7 separate regions of the Homo sapiens genome follow, and regions 2, 3, 4, 5, 6 and 7 are each linked to region 1. The links are contacts of gene promoters, found by promoter capture Hi-C in blood cells and fetal thymus (Javierre and others, 2016). All regions are on one chromosome and are shown on one strand. Each heading gives the region's core, a stretch centred on a gene start or on the middle of the fragment in contact. The rest is flanking DNA. Distances are from core to core; before and after follow the strand shown. Region 1 holds the start of PCDHA2 (protocadherin alpha 2). Region 2 has its middle 2.5 kb from the start of PCDHB12. Region 3 holds the start of PCDHB6 (protocadherin beta 6). Region 4 has its middle 7.1 kb from the start of SLC25A2. Region 5 overlaps LOC105378199 (a long non-coding RNA gene). Region 6 holds the start of PCDHB15 (protocadherin beta 15). Region 7 has its middle 6.1 kb from the start of PCDHB5.

The links. Contacts are between HindIII fragments. The CHiCAGO score rates a contact against its expected background, and 5 or more counts as called.
Region 2: a fragment that was not itself captured here is called in contact with the fragment with the promoter of PCDHA2 in region 1 in 7 of 17 cell types (M1 macrophages, erythroblasts, M2 macrophages and 4 more); the score reaches 10.3 in M1 macrophages.
Region 3: a contact is called between the fragment with the promoter of PCDHB6 here and the fragment with the promoter of PCDHA2 in region 1, in 13 of 17 cell types (M1 macrophages, M2 macrophages, M0 macrophages and 10 more). The highest score is 23.7, in M1 macrophages.
Region 4: a fragment that was not itself captured here is called in contact with the fragment with the promoter of PCDHA2 in region 1 in 5 of 17 cell types (erythroblasts, M2 macrophages, megakaryocytes and 2 more); the score reaches 10.4 in erythroblasts.
Region 5: a contact is called between a fragment that was not itself captured here and the fragment with the promoter of PCDHA2 in region 1, in 5 of 17 cell types (M1 macrophages, endothelial precursors, erythroblasts and 2 more). The highest score is 7.2, in M1 macrophages.
Region 6: a contact is called between the fragment with the promoter of PCDHB15 here and the fragment with the promoter of PCDHA2 in region 1, in 13 of 17 cell types (M2 macrophages, M1 macrophages, M0 macrophages and 10 more). The highest score is 18.6, in M2 macrophages.
Region 7: a fragment that was not itself captured here is called in contact with the fragment with the promoter of PCDHA2 in region 1 in 4 of 17 cell types (erythroblasts, neutrophils, M1 macrophages and 1 more); the score reaches 6.1 in erythroblasts.

What each region holds. Positions count from the first base shown.
Region 1 is chr5:140,793,413-140,796,112 of GRCh38, reverse strand. It overlaps PCDHA2 (protocadherin alpha 2), which reads right to left and starts at 1,261. Exons shown (of 4, transcript NM_018905.3): 1 at 1-1,261. The coding sequence starts at 1,148. The region is part of intron 1 of PCDHA1 (protocadherin alpha 1); the gene reads right to left. It also overlaps PCDHA@. The HindIII fragment of the contact is 8,329 bases long and covers 1-2,700 here.
Region 2 is chr5:141,204,814-141,207,525 of GRCh38, reverse strand. It overlaps PCDHB@. Among named protein-coding and RNA genes, the nearest start is that of PCDHB12, 2.5 kb to the left of the region's middle. The HindIII fragment of the contact is 2,869 bases long and covers 1-2,692 here.
Region 3 is chr5:141,148,730-141,151,570 of GRCh38, reverse strand. PCDHB6 (protocadherin beta 6) reads right to left here and starts at 1,514. Exons shown (of 1, transcript NM_018939.4): 1 at 1-1,514. The coding sequence starts at 1,313. It also overlaps PCDHB@. The HindIII fragment of the contact is 6,099 bases long and covers 1-2,841 here.
Region 4 is chr5:141,295,499-141,298,380 of GRCh38, reverse strand. No RefSeq gene overlaps it. Among named protein-coding and RNA genes, the nearest start is that of SLC25A2, 7.1 kb to the left of the region's middle. The HindIII fragment of the contact is 7,402 bases long and covers 1-2,882 here.
Region 5 is chr5:141,263,967-141,266,666 of GRCh38, reverse strand. All of the region lies in intron 1 of LOC105378199 (a long non-coding RNA gene), which reads left to right. Among named protein-coding and RNA genes, the nearest start is that of PCDHB15, 20 kb to the right of the region's middle. The HindIII fragment of the contact is 2,184 bases long and covers 357-2,540 here.
Region 6 is chr5:141,244,004-141,246,703 of GRCh38, reverse strand. PCDHB15 (protocadherin beta 15) reads right to left here and starts at 1,309. Exons shown (of 1, transcript NM_018935.4): 1 at 1-1,309. The coding sequence starts at 1,125. It also overlaps PCDHB@ and the pseudogene PCDHB19P. The HindIII fragment of the contact is 5,789 bases long and covers 1-2,700 here.
Region 7 is chr5:141,127,802-141,130,501 of GRCh38, reverse strand. It overlaps PCDHB@. Among named protein-coding and RNA genes, the nearest start is that of PCDHB5, 6.1 kb to the left of the region's middle. The HindIII fragment of the contact is 3,190 bases long and covers 1-2,700 here.

The DNA.
Region 1 (2,700 bases), core at 12-2,511:
CCATTCGTACCAGAGTCGCGATCCGACACCGTGATGAGAGCAATGACAGTGCCCAGGGAAGCGTTCTCTGAGATGGGAAGTGAGAGAGACGTTATTGAGACTTCTGGTGTGTTATCATTGATGTCCACAAGTTTTAATGAAATTTTACAATGTCCTGACATTGAAGGGGTTCCTTTGTCAGTTGCAGTGACCTGAATCTCGTAGGACTTTGCTTCTTCATAATCTAATTTTCCCTTAGTTCTGATTTCCCCTGAGATGGGATCTATGGTAAACTTAGTCTGTATAGTGGAGGACACATCACTACCGAGTGAATACACAATCTCGCTGTTCGGTCCTTCATCTGCATCAGAAGCGTTTAACTTAACCACTAAGGTCCCATTTGCCGTATTCTCTAACAATTTTACTTTGTAAACTGATTGGGCAAAAGTTGGTTCATTGTCATTTACATCTAATACCTTAATAAGTATTTGAACGGTGCCCGTGAGCTCAGGTTTGCCCCCATCAGTAGCCACCAGTAACAAATTAACCTCAGCAGTTTCCTCTCTGTCCAGCGATTTCCCCAGCACGAGAGACAAAGATTCGCTTAGTTCATCATTTGCCTGTATATCTAGGAAGAAAAACTCACTGGAGCTGAGCTTGTAGGAGAGAAGAGCATTTACTCCTATATCTGCATCAGATGCTCCCTCTAGAGGAAACCGAGAATCAAGCAGCCTTGATTCGGGAAACCGGATAGTCTTTACTGTCATTGGAAATATTGGCGGGTTGTCGTTAATGTCCTTCACCTCCACTTCCACATGGAAAACCTGCAGCGGCCTGTCCACGATCACCTCCACGTGGATGCTACATTCCGCGCTCCGCCCGCACAGCTCCTCCCGGTCGATCCGAGAATTCACAAACAAAATGCCATTCTGCAGATTTACCTCCAGAAGGTCCCCGTGTCTTTTGGACGCCACCCGGAACAGGCGCGGCACCAGCTCCTCCAGCTCCAGCCCCAGGTCCTGCGCGATGCGGCCCACGAAGGTGCCGTGTTTGGCCTCCTCGGGGACGGAGTAGCGGAGCTGGCCGCTCCCCACCTCCCAGGCTGCGAGGAGCAGAAGCGAGAGCAGCCGTGTCCAGGCCCCTCGGCCCCTTCTGATAGAAGACGCCATTACCAATCCTCAATGTTTTGATCAAATTAGAAGAGCATGTTTTGCAAAAATTTAAATATTCTAGTCTCTGTTAAAGTCCTGCTGCTTCTCTTATTCCTCCGCTTCTCTGAAGTAACAAAGGGGCTCTGGGTATTTTCCTTCCTAGAGAACACTCTATGGTGGACAGCGACATCATGTGGCTAAAAGGAAGGCTCTACTGTTTATTCTGTAGATTTAAAACTAGTCGATTTTCTGGTTTAAGTTTACTCATAGCTTTCATCTTGGAAAAAAATAACTATTTTAAGCCCTAAAATATATTACCTTTTTACCCTTTTTTACTCTGGTTAAAAAACACACAACATAATATTTAAAATTACCATATTAACTATGATTAAATGTACATTTCAGTAATGTTAAGTATATTCACATTGTTACAAATTTTTCATCTTGGAAAACAGAAACTCTATACCCATTAGACAACAACTCCGCTTTTCACCGTCACTCCAGTCTCTGGTAACCACAGTCCTATTTTCTATTTCTATGAATTTCACTACTTTAGATATTTCGTGTAAGTGGACTCGTAAAGTATTTGTCTTTTTGTGACTGGCCTATTTCACTTAGCACAATGTCCTCAAGGTTCATCCATGTTGTAGCATGTGACAAGATTTATTTCCTTTTTAAGGCTGAATACTAGTCCATCGTATGTATACACCACGTTTTGTTTATTCATTCAAGCATCCGTGGATGGTTCCTCAAGGTTCATCCATATTGTAACATGTGACAGGACTTCTTTCCTTTTTAAGGCTGAATAATAGTCCAACATATGTATACACCACGTTTTGTTTATTCATTCAAGTATTCGTGGACATTTGAGTTGCTTCCATTTCTTGACTGTTGTGAACAGTGCTGCCATGAACATGGGTGTGCATATATTTCTTTGAGACCCTGCTTTCAATTCTTTTGGATATATTAGCATTTTTCACTATTTCTTCAAATGAAGAACATAGTAATCAAAGGTATTTTAGTCCATTGAAAATATATGTGTATATATACTGTTGTTTTGTGATTTAATTTTGATTTTTGAATTGTTTGCAAATGTTTTGAAATTAATAATTTATTTGTTTCTCATTTGGATAATGTACTATTACTTTAGAATATTCCTTTTCCATTACATTTAGACTTTTATGCAAGAACAATACAATCGATCTCTTTTTTTGTGTTAATTACTTGAGAATATCTTCTTTTGTTAATTTTTAGCTGATCCCTTCACAGTAAAAAAATGAAAATAGAATAAAGATAAGATGAGGATGAAATAAAATGAATCAAGGAGTGGGATAGCATACAAAATCCATAATAAAGGGTCACCTTCAGTTACTCTAACCATGTCACCAATTTTGTTTTCAGCTTCCTAGAGCAAAGAGAGAAGTAAAATTAATTGCAAAATTTGCAATGTCCGTAAGAGAAAAGCAAAGCTCTTGTTAAGAAAAGCTAGCTTTTTTTCCAATAACAATTTTTTTCCCTCATGTACAGTATCTTAAGATACTCATTTGTACCATCTATGGAAATGTGTATT
Region 2 (2,712 bases), core at 9-2,508, 410 kb before region 1:
ATTCTTAAAAATGTAAGCTGGATACATGGTTGAAATAGTAATTGGTACAGAAGGGTAAAACTTGAAAAGTAGATGAATTGAGCACACACAATTAACCTCTCTTTTTAAAAAAAAATATGCACTAAAATGGCAGAAAAGTAATTAAAATGGTAGGAACTAACAAAGATTAAGAATACACAAGTGAACACATACATTTTTCTATGACAGAAAGCAGGTGGAAGAGCAATTAACTTAGCAGTTCCAAAAAGTGCCCCTAAAGTAAAGTTCCTGCATTGAAGATACTCACAAGAAACATAATCTCTTTTAAGCGCAAGATCTGGAGGAACCAGATGTTTAAGAAGACTGAAGTCAGTTAAGGATGGAAAAAAGTTATTAGTTGGAAGTATGTGTAGAGGATAATTGAATTCTCTGTTCTTCTCATCACCCTACATAGATGGAAACATAACTCACAGCCAGAAAATAGAAAGTTTATTCTCTGGAGAAATTTAATGGGACTTTCTCTAGTCTTGGGGATCTAGGCACAGCTGAGCACAAGTGTGAGGTGTCAAACTGAAAATAGGGAGAGTAAGCAAACCTTTGCATTTTGCATGGTGAGACTTCTAATCCCTTTTCATGCAATACTCTTAGACTGTAGGACACAAAGTGTATGCCTGACCCCTAGTCTATCCCCATAGTGTATATTGTAGAATTCTAACCTGGAGAATATGAAAGCCCAAATGAAGACACATATTAATATTTGGCATCTCATAAGGTAATAGACTTATCCTAGCATGGTTATATTAGAATGAAGCCCTGCCATCAACAGGTACTGTTCGCTCACAGAGTTGATTGTCAGCATTTTGATATATCATCCTTCTAAAATACGAGAAGATAGCCAAGGCATTTGAGGAAATGCCTGCAACATAACATAGAAAGACCAAAACTACCACCATCGCTACCATCAAGAAAAAAAAAAGGAACAATAATATAGAAAGCAGAAGAAAGCCTTTGAAAATGTCTGGTTAATATTCCCAGAGAAAGAAAATCTAATAAAAGCTAATACTTATTTAGTATTTACTCTATGCTACTCATTGTTCTAAGTGCCTCATAATGCATTTATCCATTTAATCTAAATAGTAGCTGTATGAAGTATGTATTTATCCACTTAATCTAAATAGTAACTATATGAAGTACATATTCCTATTGTAAGATGAAGACTAGATTAGGACTTCAGTGCTTTTTACTAGCTATATTACCTTGGACAAGTTCTTAACTCCCCTTAGACTCACTTTCACTTTTAAAATGGATATATAATAATGATACTGCCTAATGCATTTTTAAAGAAAAGATTAATTATAAATGAGAGAAAATATTACATTTATAAATCTATGACAGGATGCCATGAAAAACATTCAGAGAACCAAAAACAACTCTTAAAAGTAAATATTTTTCAGTCATAAAGAAAAACTTATACATAAAACATTGAGTGATTAAATAAATTGTCCAAAAAATGGAATGAGAGGCAAAGAGAAAATAAGAAAGGAAAAATGGCTTATAGTCTTATAGAGTCAATCTAGGAGGTCTAATATTTAACTGAGATTTTCATTGAAGTGAGAATCCAGAAAACTCAGAGGAGAAATTATGAGTAAAACATACCAAGGAAATTCCTTTTAACAAATTGTTTTTGTGTAGAGATAGGTTCCCACTATGTTGCCCAGGGTGGTCTCAAACTCGGGGCCTCAAATAATCCTGCCTCAGCTTCCCAAAGTACTGGGATTGCAGGTGTGAGTCACCATGCCCAACCAAAATTTCTCAGAAATAAAATTGATAGTCTGAACATTAGCCAAGGGGTCTAGCACATGCCTGTAGTCCCAGCAACTTGGAAGGCTGAGGCAGAAGTAGCTCTCGAGTTAGAGCTTGCAGGGTGCTGTGATTGTGCCTGTGAATAGCCACTGCACTCCAGCCTGGGTAACACAGTGAGACATCATCTTAAAAAAAAAAGAAAAGTTAAACATGAACAGGGCATAGCGATATAACCAGATTAATCAATAAAGAGCCAGTACTAAGGTATTTTCAGAAGACCAGGGGAATTTTTTTCAATGCTCACAGAAAGAAAGAAAAAAAGGGGGGGAATCACATAAAAAGACATAGGAATCAGAATGGAATCAGTCTTCTGAACAGCAATTCTATATGCAGTCAATAAAAGGAGCAGTGCTTTTGAAATCTGAGGGAAAATTATTTTCAACCTAGAATGTTATGCCCAAACTATCAATCAAATAAAAAAAAAGAAAATAACAAAGCAAGCTCTCAAAAAGTTTTATTTCCTCTGTATCCATTTTTATGAAGGTACTGAGAGATGTGCATCAACAAAATAAGTGAGTAAACTAAGAAAGAAGAATGTACTGGATCTTATAAAAAAGGACCAACAAAGAAAAATATTTTTTAAAGTCCTAGGGTGACAGCCTATAGAGCAACCAGTATGAATGAAGTAGAGATCTGGGTGCAAGATCACCAAGAAATAAACATAATTGACAGGTATCTGATATATTTGAATATTTTGAGAAGAAAGAGATTCAAATTAGAGAATGTAAAGAAACTAATATTAGTAAATGGAAAATTATGTAAGTACAAAACAATTTTCAGTTCTAGGAAAAATGTTTCTCAAGAAAGGAAATTTAATCACACTACACTAATGTGTATTTTGAAGAAAGCTTAGCAATATGGACACTATTA
Region 3 (2,841 bases), core at 265-2,764, 360 kb before region 1:
TGCACAGTTATGCTCTGCTGGGTTTTCAGCCTTGGTGTCCCCAAATCAGTGACCGTGATAGTGATGTTGTACTCGGCTCTGCTCTCTCTGTCCAGCGCGCCTTCTGTTACCAGGGTGTAGAAATTCTCCACGGAAGGTCTTAGTAGAAAGGGGAGATTGTTCTCTATTGAACAAATAACCTGTTGGTTATGTCCAGAGTCTGCATCTGAAACACTGAAAACTGCCACTGTGATCTCTGGTAAGTTTTCTGGGATGAGGCTGATGAAGAACGACATGGTGAGTTCAGGGGCATTGTCATTCACGTCCAGGACCCTGACGACTAAAGAGCATTTTCCTGATAGGCCTCCACCATCTGTAGCCTCAACATCCACGTCATAAGACTGAATTTCCTCAAAATCCAAAGCCTTTCTCAGCCGAATTTCTCCTGTGATTGCGTTTATTTCGAAGGGTTGGTTGACGTCATCGACTTGAAACAGGGCGTAAGATACCTTCCCAAACGATCCTGCATCTAAATCTCTGGCTGAGACGGTAATAACCAGAGAGCCGAGGGGGTTGTTCTCAGGGACTTGTGCTTCATAGAGCTCCTGAGCAAACTCGGGGACGTTGTCATTGATGTCCAAAACCTGGATCTGAATCTCGGAGGTCCCTGACCGGGGCGGAGACCCGCCATCCAGCGCGATCAGCGTTAGCCTGAGTTGGGGCTGCTCCTCGCGGTCCAACGGTTTGTCTAGCACCAGCTCCGGGAACTTCCTGCCTTCGCTGCGATTGCGGGTGAGAACGTGGAAGTGAGGGTTGGAGCTGATTGTGTACCTCTGAAGGCCGTTGCTGCCGGTGTCTAAATCGTGTGCCATTTTCAAAGGAAATATCTTTCCTGGCATAGTAATTTCTGATATTTTCAGGAGCATTTCTCTGGCAGGGAATTCCGGGGCGTGGTCATTTATATCTCTGACTCGCAAGGAAGCCTGAAAAAACTGCAAGGGGTTTTCCAGTAACACTTGGAAAGGTAGCACACACGGCTCAGTGGAGCCACACAGCTCCTCCCGGTCCAGTTTTTCATTTAGCAGTAAATCATGGGTCTGTGGATCAAACTGCAAATGTTGTCTGTTCCCTTTGAAAACAACCCGAGCGCCCCGCGAAGCCAGCTCCCCCACCCTCAGTCCCAGGTCCTTTGTCAAGTTGGCCACAAACGTGCCACTTTCTGTCTCCTCCAATACGGAATACTGAATCGATTCAGAACCCACCTCTCCCCAAAGCATCAATAAAATGAAGAAAGCCACTTGCCTTTTCTTGTTCTGTACTTTAGTTTGCATCATGTCTATTATGTCTGAATACGGAAGAAAAATCCTTTTCAGCTCCCAATCACCACATCTACCGTCGACCCTCTCGGATGTCTTTGCAGAGATTTTTAAATTCGTTCTTACAACTTGTCTGGCGACGACTGCCTTCCCGGACACATCTATCTCAGCTTTAGCTGTAAACGTGGTCTGTATTTTTACTTGGCTTCTGGATGAAACGGAGTCCACCGAGTCTGCAGAGCTTTCATTCACTCTCTTAGCTTGTACCGCCACCACGCGTTCAAACTAATAACTTCATGAGATGTTTTCAGGTCAATAGCATTTCAGAAATCTGAGCATTATAAAGACTTTTAAGTCGAGTCAGTGTTTCTCAAACTGAGTGCGTGGACCGCATGCATAAATAATTGCTTGCGAGCGTTGGTTTTTTTGTGTGTATGTTTTTGTTTTTAAGCCAATTCCTGGGTTCACTCCCCTCTAGAACTTGAATCAAATTCCCTGGTGGTGCTAATTAAGGAGAAAGATTGAAGTGCAGATTCTACACTTCAGTCTTTCTCCTTTGATGCTTCAGCAGTGCAATTTATCTCTGATGAACTATTTAATCTATTAGTCCAAGAGGTACACTATTTAATTGTCCCAACAAACAATGCAAAACAACGAAGTTTGTTAGCAACAATAATGGTAAAATAAACAATAAATTATCTAAATTATATGACTCATAAATGGCATGAAAAAAAAAACCTACTTTGTTATATAGTTATGCCTGCACAGTAAAAAGAACAATTAGGCTATTAGGAGGAAAACTGAGGCCAAGAAGTACGTATGATACATGTATCTAAGTAAATTAAAGTATTTAAAAGAGGGACTAGAAGCAATCAAGTAGTTGTCATAAGCATTTTAGGATTCTACTCCATTTTTGCATGGATAGAATTAGACATTGTTTTAACAGTCTTGTGCATTTTATTTTTTGATCAAATTCCCCTCTTACATTATTTAATCAAGGTCCAAATATATTACCGTGTTGTACAAACATGATGCAACACAGAAAACAAACATTCAAGAATCACCTTCACCGTCTTCTCACAGCAAAAAGAACACCAAGTCCAATAAATACAGGCCAAATTAAGGTACTGTTAAAACAGGTGAGTTACATTTGAGTGAATGCCATGGAATTCAATGATGGAATATTATGGCTATATCCATTCCCATCTCACTAGTTTCTACTCAGATACATTGGAACATGTATCTCTAAACAAACTGAAAATGTGTGAAATAGATTAGTGCACATAGAAGAGGTAAAATATGCCAAACAATTCAATTCATTTCAGATTAATTTCATATTTATTGAGAGGTGAAATCAATTGAGTTCAAACAAAGTTCACTTCAGGTAAGGGCCAAGGTGATAGAAGATTAAAAATCAAGATATTTTCAAATACATAAATGCTAGGCAAAACAAATAAGGCTAAATAAAATCTAAACTCTGAATAGCTGAGATGATCTTGTAGTTCAAAATCACCTCTATGTAGCCAGAAAAACAAAAGATTATGAA
Region 4 (2,882 bases), core at 168-2,667, 500 kb before region 1:
GCAGGGGCACAGTGGGCTCTAGTGGGTTCCGGTGGGCACTTTTCTTTCTTTTTTGGACTGTAAGTCTGGGCTCTATGAATCATCACTTCAGCCCCTGATTGTTCCCAACCCAAGGTCCCGGGCAAACCTTTCTGGTTGATGTCAGGTCAAGCTGAGTCACATGTTCTCCAGACAGCCCAGGGACTAAGCACATTCCTTCCTCTTCCCAGCCCCTGAAAACCCTGGACCCCAGCCTCACACGGGGCACCCTGTTTAGGCCCGCCTCTCTGCTGACAGAGAACTTTCTTGTTTCGCTTATTAAACTTTCGCTCCAACCTCACCTTTGTGTCTTCTTGGAGGTAGGACAAAGAACTCTGGGTGTTATCTCAGACAAGGAGAGACTGTTACATCTTGGTGCATTGCTGAGACTACAACAAAACTATCATCAGGGTCTGTGGCCTGCTTTCTGAGCTCCACTGTCTACACTGTTCTTGGCTTCCTCCTAATGCCAGCACTTACATACAGACTTCTTGTTAATGATGTTTAAAAGGTGGACTGCTATCTTCCTGTTTCCCCAACCTCTTCAAGGTTGGTAGCATCACCAGTAGTGATGCTCTATTCCTTACATGAGGCTTAGTAGATTTTTCAAAATCAGTTCAGGCTGGCTTTAGTCTGCATGTTGAGAAGAAAAAATATCACAAGTGGGTAAGTAGCTTTGTAGATAATTGATGTCTCTTAACAATCATGCACATTCTGCATGTGAAAATAATGTCCCCAGAAAGGGCATTATTATTTCTTCCACTGGGAAGCCAGATAATTATGTATATAGCGAGTATTTCTACTGCAGCCTGAAGAAGTTTCACTGGGTCCTTCTCAACAACCTGGTCTCTCAGCAGACGTGAACTAGGGCATCTCTCTACATATCTTCTTTAATCATTGATTTACAAACAGATCTTTTGTGCATTTAGAAGAAGTGTGCTTTTCTGACTTTGGAGAAATAGTGGACTCACCTCTAGCCGGTGCTCAGGGTTTCTCATCTAGGTTCTCCACGACGTTGCCCACAAAAAAGCCTTCTTCAACTCCTTGGTACTGGACTCAGATGCTCATTTAGACAGGCAGAGGCAGCTCAGGAGGTTAGTTAGTCTTCCCTTGTGTCTGCAGCCTGCTGCGGCACCATGACTGTCTTCTGGTGAATGCATTATGGGATTTATTTATTATTATTATTTTTTCAGACGGAGTCTCACTTTATTGCCAGGCTGGAGTGCATTGGCACGATCTTGGCTCACTGCAACCTACGTCTCCCAGGTTCAAGTGATTCTCCTGCCTCAGCCTCCCAAGTAGCTAGGACTACAGCCACGCACCACCACACCCAGCTAATTTTTGTATTTTTAGTAGAGACGGGGTTTCACCATGTTGGCCAGGATGGTCTCGATATCTTGACCGCGTGATCAGCCTGCCTTGGCCTCCCAAAGTGCTGGGATTACAGGCGTGAGCCACTGCGCCCAGCTGGGATTTATTTTTCTACTTTCTGCTTCTGTTTCTTTGTTTGCCTCCCCTCTTCTCTTTGCCATCTGGAGTCAAAGCTGATCCAAGTCGATAAGACCCTAGCTCTATGTCCAAGCACTAGTGATTCTCCAGGTTGATTCTGTTCTGTGCCTGCAGTAGAGCTGGGCAGGAAGGCTCCTAGGTTCTGTGTTTTCCATGCTGGAGAAAAGATCTAAAGGCCTGGGAGAAGTTAAACATGTTTGGCAAGAATACATCATTGGTGATTTTCTGTGCTTCATATTCTATCACATATAGGATTTTATTGTTATTTATTTTTATTTTTGAGATGGAGTCTCACTCTGTCACCCAGGCTGGAGTGCAATGGCACGATCTCAGCTCGCTGCAACCTCCGCCTCCTGGGTTCAAGCGATTCTCCTGCCTCAGCCTCCCAAGTAGCGCCCACCACTACGCCCGGCTAATTTTTGCATTTTTAGTAGAGATGGGGTTTCACCGTGTTGGTCAGGCTAGGCTCAAACTCCCGATCTCAGGTGATCTGCCTGCCTTGGCCTCCCAAAGTGCTGGGATTACAGGCGTGAGCCACCACACCCAGCCCACATATAGAATTTTTTAAAAACAAATCCTGTTGGACCTCAGATTCACAGAATTGGATTATGATAGACTCTCATCATTAGTCCATACATGGCCTGCTTTATTTATTTACTTACCTAGCCAGTGTCAGATTTAAAATCCTCAATACTTGGTGTCATATCTCTGGCTCTGTCCTGTACTAGGTGTGTGACCTTAGTCAAGTTTTCTAACTCTGTGTATTGGTTTCTTCAACAGTAAAATGAGGATTATTACCTCACAGAGCTGTGTGAGAATTAAATGAGTTAATATATGCAGACTAGTTAATGCGGTGCCTGGTGTCTGGTAAACTGTGTACGTGTTGGCTTTTATATTATCTCTGGGTTTCCATCTATGATCCTTTGCCTTATACCCAAAATAAATTCTTTAGAATTTCCTTTAATGTGGGTCTACTAGTGACAAAGACTCTTCATTTTTGTTTTAGATTGTCTTTATTTCACTTTCATTCTTTTAAATTAATTTTTTCTAGTTTTGCATTTTTTAACTACTATTGAGGATGAATATTTTTCAGGGTGTTGCTTAGCTGTTTATGGTTCTTTTTTAAAAAATGAGTTCACCCAGCCTGGGCAACACAGGGAGACCTCATCTCTAAAAAAAATTTTAAAATTTAGCTGAGTGTGGTGGTGCATGCCTGTGGCTCCAGCTACTTGGGAGGCTGAGGTGGGAAGATTGTTTGGGCTCAGGAGGTCGAGGCTGTAGTGAGCCAAGATCATGCCATTGGACTTCAGGCTAGGCGACAGAGTGAGACCCTGTCTCAAAAAAACAAGAGTTCA
Region 5 (2,700 bases), core at 199-2,698, 470 kb before region 1:
AACAGAGATAATTAGATTTTTATAGCATCATTGGAATGTGTGGATAAGTGGAACTCAGGAACTATTGAGTTCCAAGAACAACTTGCTACACCTGTGACCCAGGGTTAGTAGGCCACTTCTACTGTTGCTACCACCTCTCAATACCCACACAGTTGCTCCTAGATACAGGAACACTCAATCTGGCTGTTGCTCCTGGTGACACTGGAATGCTGAACCTTCCTTCCACAGCTACTTCTCAACCCTTTGCTTGTACAACCAAATGCAGCAGTATAGCAGATGCTATTGATGCCTGTCCTATATTCCCTTGGCCCACCTCAGAGTTTACCTGCAGTTCAATGAAAACTTTTTAGCAAGCTTACAGCAGCTTCTCTTGTGATATGGTTTGGCTGTGTCCCCACTCAAATCTCATCTTGAATTGTACTCCCATAATTCCCACGTGTTGTGGGAGGGACCTGGTGGGAGATAATTGAATCATGAGGGCAGTTTCCCTCCTACTGTTCTGGTCGTAGTGAATAAGTCTCATGAGATCTGATGGTTTTATCAGGGATTTCCACTTTTGCATCTCTCTCATTTTCTCTTGCCGCTGCCATGTAGGAAGTGCATTTCACCTACTGCCATGATTCTGAGGCCTCCCTAGCCATGTGGAACTGTAAGTCCAATTAAACCTCTTTTGCTCCCTAGTTTCAGGTATGTCTTTATCAACAGTGTGAAAATTGACTAATACATCATGTCAAGCACTTTTGTCTTTCTACTTCTCTTCCTGGGAGGGATTTCTCTGATGCCATAGGAGCTTGCTCTGCCCATTCACATTGCAATCTGGAATTTCCAGAAATTTAATGCCCTTAGGGTTAACACTCAATGAAAGATGGAAGGTGAGATCAGTCTACCACTAACTTTCTGGTTCTTTGATGGGACAATTCTACAGTATGTTCCACACAGTTCCTCATAGAGTTCCCTAGCAAGATTGAGGCCCATGTATTCACAATGGTAATCTGCTTATTAAAATAATAATTTTTAATTTATTGATGTTTCTCCCTTCTTTTTCTCAGTTTCCACACTTCCTCACTGGTGCTTCTCTAGATAACTTTTTAAATAAATTAATTGCACCTAAGTCCTTGTCTCTAGGTCTGCTTTTGGGAGAACTCAACAAAGATAGCAACTTAGAAAGCAAATTCTAAGGATGGGATTCTGAACTTGAATTACTTGCTGGTCACATGGCAGCAATCCAATTCTGGTAGAAAGTGGGGTTGTGATAATCCCTGTCATGCTGTAGCATCCCACTTACTAAGATTCTCACCTGTGGAGGATTGAAATGAGCAACAGGTATAACTACTGGCTTATGCAATAGCTTCTGCACATGACACAAATGGAAAAAATTGTAATTGAAAGGATTGTGAAGTTTGCTTCTTTTTTCTACTGACCATAAGCCCTGAATATATAGCATGATTAGCTCAAATTATCCACCTATCAATTTAGAGAACACTGTGAAAGCCAAAGGCTTTCCATGGAAAAATTTTAAAAGACATCTCTTTTCTACAGCTGGAGGGCTAGATGTACTGAAAATCAGGCTCAGTATTTGAATGTATTAGTGCCAGAGCTACAAAGCAGACTGAAAACACAACGATCTAAGTTTTCTTTGTTAAAGTTAGAATCCTGATAGGAAAGAAATATTCCACATACTCTGAGTCCTGGGATGAGGACATTTGGTTGGATGTACTTGAGATACTTATATTCTCAGATTCCCTTGAACTCTTTCTAGCCATGGATCCTCCTCCTTTCTAGGGAAATAAAGCCTTTCATTGCTTGGAGATAATGTAATGCCTTCATCTGATATTAATGCCTTACAAGATGAAACTTACCCTATTCAAGACCTGTCCCCACTGCTTTTATATCTATAACTAAGGTTAAATAATGACGTGAGCTGGAAAGTACAATTCCTGCTCATGAGAAAAATAAATCCTATTCATTAGAAAATAAAATTTAGGCCAGGCACAGTGGCTTATGCCTGTAATCCCATCACTTTGGGAAGCCGAGGCAGGCAGCTCACAAGGTCTGGAGATCGAGACCATCCTGGCCAACATGGTGAAACCCTGTCTCTACTAAAAATACAAAAAAATTAGCTGAGCATGGTGGCATGCACCTGCAGTCCCAGCTACTCAGGAGGCTGAGGCAGGAGAATTGCTTGAACCCGAGAGGTGGAGGTTGCAGTGAGCTCAGATCGTGCCACTGCACTCCAGCCTGGTGAGAGAGCGAGACTCCGTCAAAAAAAAGAAAAGAAAAGAAAATTTAAAAAAATTATATTCACTAAAGAAACTACAAGGCATGGCTAATATGTACCAGCAGAAACATGGGGATTATGCTTGGAAATTAATATTGAACATAAATGTGTGTGTGTGTGTGTGTAATATGCTGCTGGATAGAGGAGTGTTTAGGGTACAAAGGTACTCTCTCTTGACTTCAGATTTGTACTTCAGAATTGCCTCCTGGCAATGACACCTATGATAAGAACTAATACATTGCTGGGTTGGCCTCTTGAAGCTTGGGCATAATGATGGACTACAATAAACGAGTTGGAGTTACCAGAACTACCTTGGAGAGTACTGAAGGGGTCAGAAGCGTCAAACATATTAGAGTGGATTTATTAGATGACACTAGAAAAGTCATCTGCAGAGTCTTTTCTTTGGGAGAGTCCATAGATTT
Region 6 (2,700 bases), core at 60-2,559, 450 kb before region 1:
AGAGTCTCGGTCTCTAATCCTAAACAGGGCCACTTCTGTCTCTGGAGAATTCTCGGGAATAGGGCTGGTAAGTGATGAAATACTTAGTTCCGGGAAGTTATCGTTAACATCCAGCACCTTAACAGAGACAGAGCATTTTCCAGAAAGTCCCCCGCCATCAGATGCCTCTATATCTAGATCATACGAAGACATTGTCTCAAAATCTAGTTTTTTAATTAGTCGAATTTCTCCTGAAAGGCTGCTTAGCTCAAAAGGTTTGTCTATCTCCTGAGAGCTGTAATAAAGGGAGTATGATATCTCTCCATTTGTCCCAGTGTCTAAATCCCTAGCAGAGACCTTGACAACTAGGGAGCCTACTGGGCTGTTCTCTGGGACCTGCACCTCGTAGAGCGCCTGCACAAACTCCGGGGCATTGTCATTGGCGTCCAAGACCAAGATGAGGATCTGGACGGTGCCAGATCGGGGTGGAGAGCCACCGTCCACCGCTGTCAAGGTTAATCTGAGCTCGGCCTGCTCCTCGCGATCCAGTTCTGTGTCCAGCACCAGCTCTGGGTATTTCCTGCCATCCCCTCGGGTGCGAGTGGAAACATGGAAATGAGAATTGGGAGAAATATTGTAGTTTTGAACATTATTGCTGCCCACGTCCAAGTCCCGAGCTTTTTTCAGAGGAAACACAGTCCCAAGGGAGCTAGTTTCTGGGATTTTCAGGGTCATTTCTCTTTCAGGAAACTCAGGAGAATGATCGTTTATGTCTGTCACTAGTAGTTCAGCTCGAAATACTTCCAAAGGTTTTTTCAGTAACACTTGGAAATGCATTATACAGGGCTCAGTAGGGCCACACAGCTTCTCCCGGTCCAGCTTCTCATTTAATATCAACTGCCCGGTCTGCAGATCAAGCTGCAAGCCTTGTTCGTTATCCTCAGAAACTACCCGGGCTCCCCGCTCGGCTAGCTCCCCCACTCCCAGCCCTAGGTCATTGGCCAGGTTGGCTACAAAAGAACCTCTCTCTGTTTCCTCCATCACAGAATAGCGACGGGGTTCCCAGCCTGCCAGAGTCACTTCCAGTAAAAGAAGGAGAATCAGGACTTGCCTTTGTTCGGGAAAGCGCTCCCCTGCAGGCTCCATCTTTACTTCTGTACACGCCCCTTTCAAGGAACCGGAGTCAGAGCTACTTCAGGGAGCGATGGGACAGAGGCAGTGATCGATCTGTGCGTTGATAACCTGTTCGGAAATGTAGGAGAATAGCATTCTCCGGAGACACTGGTCCGTGCTCTGCTAACAGGCTTTCCTCTTAGGCTGAAAGAGGTCTGAAGTAGCTAGTAGCATTTCATGGGCTTTTTCCTTTTCCTTTTTTTGAAGCCTTAGCCTGCAGCGCCACCATGCGTTGTCTTTGCTTCGAAACGAATTGCTACAATTGATCTATTCTCTATTCTATTAGGAGTTTGGAAATTGGGAGGAAATGATGTAATCACAATATCACGCAATGGTAATTATTAATTTCTTCATTTAAAGGAGTATTATTGGTCTCTATGTGCCAAATTATGAAATACATCAGTAAACAACCCAGACATGGTCCCCACCCTCCAGAGCCTGTAGTCTGGGTGTAGTGTTCTGAGGGAAATTGAGAAGTGAAAGAAGACATAATAGTGATCAGTCATCTTGTAATAATAATAACATAAAGCCACGTGATTTCTTAAAAATTTATCAGCAAAACAAAATGAATTCTTTAATTTCTTTCAAATTCTAGACAGCCTATGTACCAGAATTGTGCTCCCATTGGTTGGATTACATCAAGAAAAAGCTACACGTTAATTCCAGTGTGGTATCCTTTCTACATAAAGTCAGAGAGTTATGATTTTATGAAAATTTTAAACTGTGGAAAAATACATATGAAGGCACTTCCTATATCTCTTACTTTGCTTTTTCTTTTTTTTCTTTTCATTTTTCCTTTTTTTTTTTTTGAGATGGGGTCTTGCTCTGTTGTCCAGGAGGGAGTGCAGTGGCACAATCACTGCTCATTGCAGCCTTGACTACCCAGGCTCAAGCAATCCCCCCACCTCAGCAACTGTAGCTGGGACCACAGTTGCGCATCACCATGCCTGGCTAATGTTTTAATTATTTGTAAAGATGAGGTCTTGCTATGTTGCCCGGGCTGGTCTCAAATTTCCGAGCTCAAGCAATCCTCCTGCCTCAGCCTCCCAAAGTGCTGGGGTTATAGGCATGAGCTGCTGTACCCAGCCCTGCCTTGTCTCTCTCGTATTTATTATCTGACGTAGTATAGATGTACTTATTTAGTTGTTTCCTTTCTGTTTCAACCTCACATGTTAGAACTTCATTTTGTTCACTGCTGCATCCCCAATATCTAAAATAATCCCTGGCACATGGTACGTGCTCAATAAATATTTGTTAAATGGATCCATTAATAAATCACAATTAATTTAAACATTCTGACAGATAGGTTCTCCTCCTACTGTAGAAATTCCCTCTTCTTCTGGGATTCAAGTTCATTATATAAGATGGATAAACAAAGACAACATGTTCATAAGGTAGCTATTTCCTATGCCCTTTAAATAGTAATGTGAAATAACTCAGAATGACCTAAAATGTCATTTCATTAAGTGGCAAAACAACTTAGCTACCCATAAGCAAGGGATATATTATATGACAGAAAGAAAGAACATAACAAGATTATGATGACCC
Region 7 (2,700 bases), core at 158-2,657, 330 kb before region 1:
TATTTTTATTTCTGGCTTAATTCCACTGTGGTCAAAGAACATACTCTAAGTAGTTTCAATTTTTTTCCCCCCCAAGAAGGAGTTTGCTCTGTCGCCCAGGCTGGAGTGCAGTGGCACGATCTCAGCTCACTGAAACCTCCACCTGACGGTTTCAAGCAATTTTCCTGCCTCAGCCTCCCGAGTAGCTGGGATTACAGGTGCCTGCCACCATACCCTGCTAATTTTTGTATTTTTAGTAGAGACGGGGTTTCACCATATTGGCCAGGCTGGTCTCGAACTCCTGACCTTGTGATCTGCCCGTCTCTGCCTCCTGAACTGCTGGGATTACAGGTGTTAGCCACTGTGCCTGGCCTCAATTCTTTTTTAAATATTTGAGACTTCATTCATGACAAAGAACATGAACAATTTTTATATATCCCACATGCATATAAGAAGAATGTGTATGCTCCAGTGTGCTATGCATGTCAATTTATTTGAATATGATGTTCGTGTGGTTCGGATCTTCAACATTTTTTGTATGTGTGTGTTTTTTCTTCTTATTCTAACAGGAATTGAGAGAGTTGTATTCAATCTCCCTGTGTAATTGGGTTTGTCTACTTTGTATTTGTATTCTATCAACTTTATATATTTTGTAGTTATCTAATTGGGATGTATTCAGTCTTAAAACTAACATATTTCTGGTATATTTACTTCTTTATGATTATAAAAAAACTTCTCTTTATCTCTAGTAATGTATCTTTCCTTAAAGTCTCTTTTGTCTTATGTAAATACAGCTACCTAGATTTATTTTGGCTAGTGTTTATATTACTATATACCTTATCCAATTCTTTTAAACCTTCACTCTTTCTGTGTTCACACACACACAATTTGATAGCATAGAGTTGAGTTTTTCTTTAATCTAGTCTGACAATTTTTGTTGTTTAATTGGATTATTTAATCCAAATAAAATTAATACAATATCTGATATATTTCCATTTATGCTTACCATCTAATTACTTTTCTATTTGTCACTAAAGTTTAATTTTTCTTTTTGATTATTCAGATATTTTTAATTTTTCTTCCTTCAATTAGTGTTTTATTACTTTGAGGATTATCCAATAAATTACAGCATGCATCTTCAATATACAAGAATCTAACACACGTTAGTAATTTTACTACTTCCATGATAATGCTTACAGCCTTAACACTTTTTAACTCTATTTATACCTTTGCCTTTTACATTATTGTTGTTATAAATTTAAATTTTACATATAATTTAAATCCTTTAAGAAACTAGTATTAATATTATTGCCTTGTATAATCAATATTCAATCAACATTCATGTACATTGACCTTTCTTATTGCTCTTCATTTATTCCTGCAATTCTGTGATTTCTTTTGGATTGTTTTCCTTCTGCCTAATGCATTTCATTAAAAGCATTTCTTGGCCAGATGCAGTAGCTCATGCCTGTAATCCCAACACCTTCAGAGGCCAAGGCGGGTGGATCCCTTGAGGTCAGGAGTTCGAGACCAGCCTGGCTAACATGGTGAAACCCTGTCTCTACTAAAAATACAAAAATTAGCCAGGCGTGGCGGCACATGTCTGTAATCCCCTCTACTCAGGAGGCTGAGATGGGGAGAATAGCTTGGACCCAGGAGGTGGAGATTGCAGTGAGCCGAGATTGTGCCACTGCACTCCAGCCTAGACAACAGAGTGAGACTCTGTCTCGAAAAAAAAAAAAAAAGTATTTCTTTTAGTGCAGATGTGACTGTCGTTAATTCCCTTCATTTTTGTCTGAAAACTGCATTCATTTTTGAAGGATATGTTTGCTGGCAATAGAATTCTAACCTGGTAGTAATTTTCTTTCAGGACTTTAAAGATGTCATTCCTTTGTCTTTTGATTTCCTGATTTATGTTGAAAAGTCAGCTCTCCATTTTACTGATGCTCCTTTAACAGGAATGTTTTATTTCTTACATGGTTGGTTCTTAAATTATCTCTTTGACTTTGGTCTTGAGATGCTTTCCTATGATATGCCTAATTAGGCTTTGTTTTTATTTAGCCTGTTATTATTTATTTCTTGAATATCTTGAAGGATTAAGGATTTTCACCAGTTTTGGAAAATTCTTTATCATTATCTCTTCAAATATTGCCTCATGCTTGTTCTCTCTTTCAGTATGTTAGAGTTTTTAAAAATTACATTCCACACATCACTAATGTTCTTTTCTGTATATTTTATTATTTTATTCTCTGTGCTTATATTTGGATGTTAATATTGAATTGTCTTGCATCCACTAATCCTGTATCATTTTATGACTATGACATTAAACCATTTAAATAGTTTTAATTTCAGATAATATAATTTTTCAGTTCTAGAATTAACTTTCACTTTTAAAGTTCAATTCTCCAGTGAAATTATCTCCTTATTTTCTCTATTGTTCTTTATTTTTAACATATTAGTCTTACTTATTTTAATATCATTCAGTTAATTTTAATATCTGAATCATTTATGGGTAATTTTTATTGTCTTTTTTTTCTCTCGGTTTTATTCATGTATCCAGTTTTTGGTGTGTGTACTTAGGAATTTTTTATTGAATGTTGAATATTTACATAAAAAGCTATCCAAGGTTAAGATATTATCTTCCTCCAACAAGAGTTCACCTTTTCCACTGTTAACTTGATAGAGTTCTGTCTAAACAAATCATCTCAACTGAAACAGGCA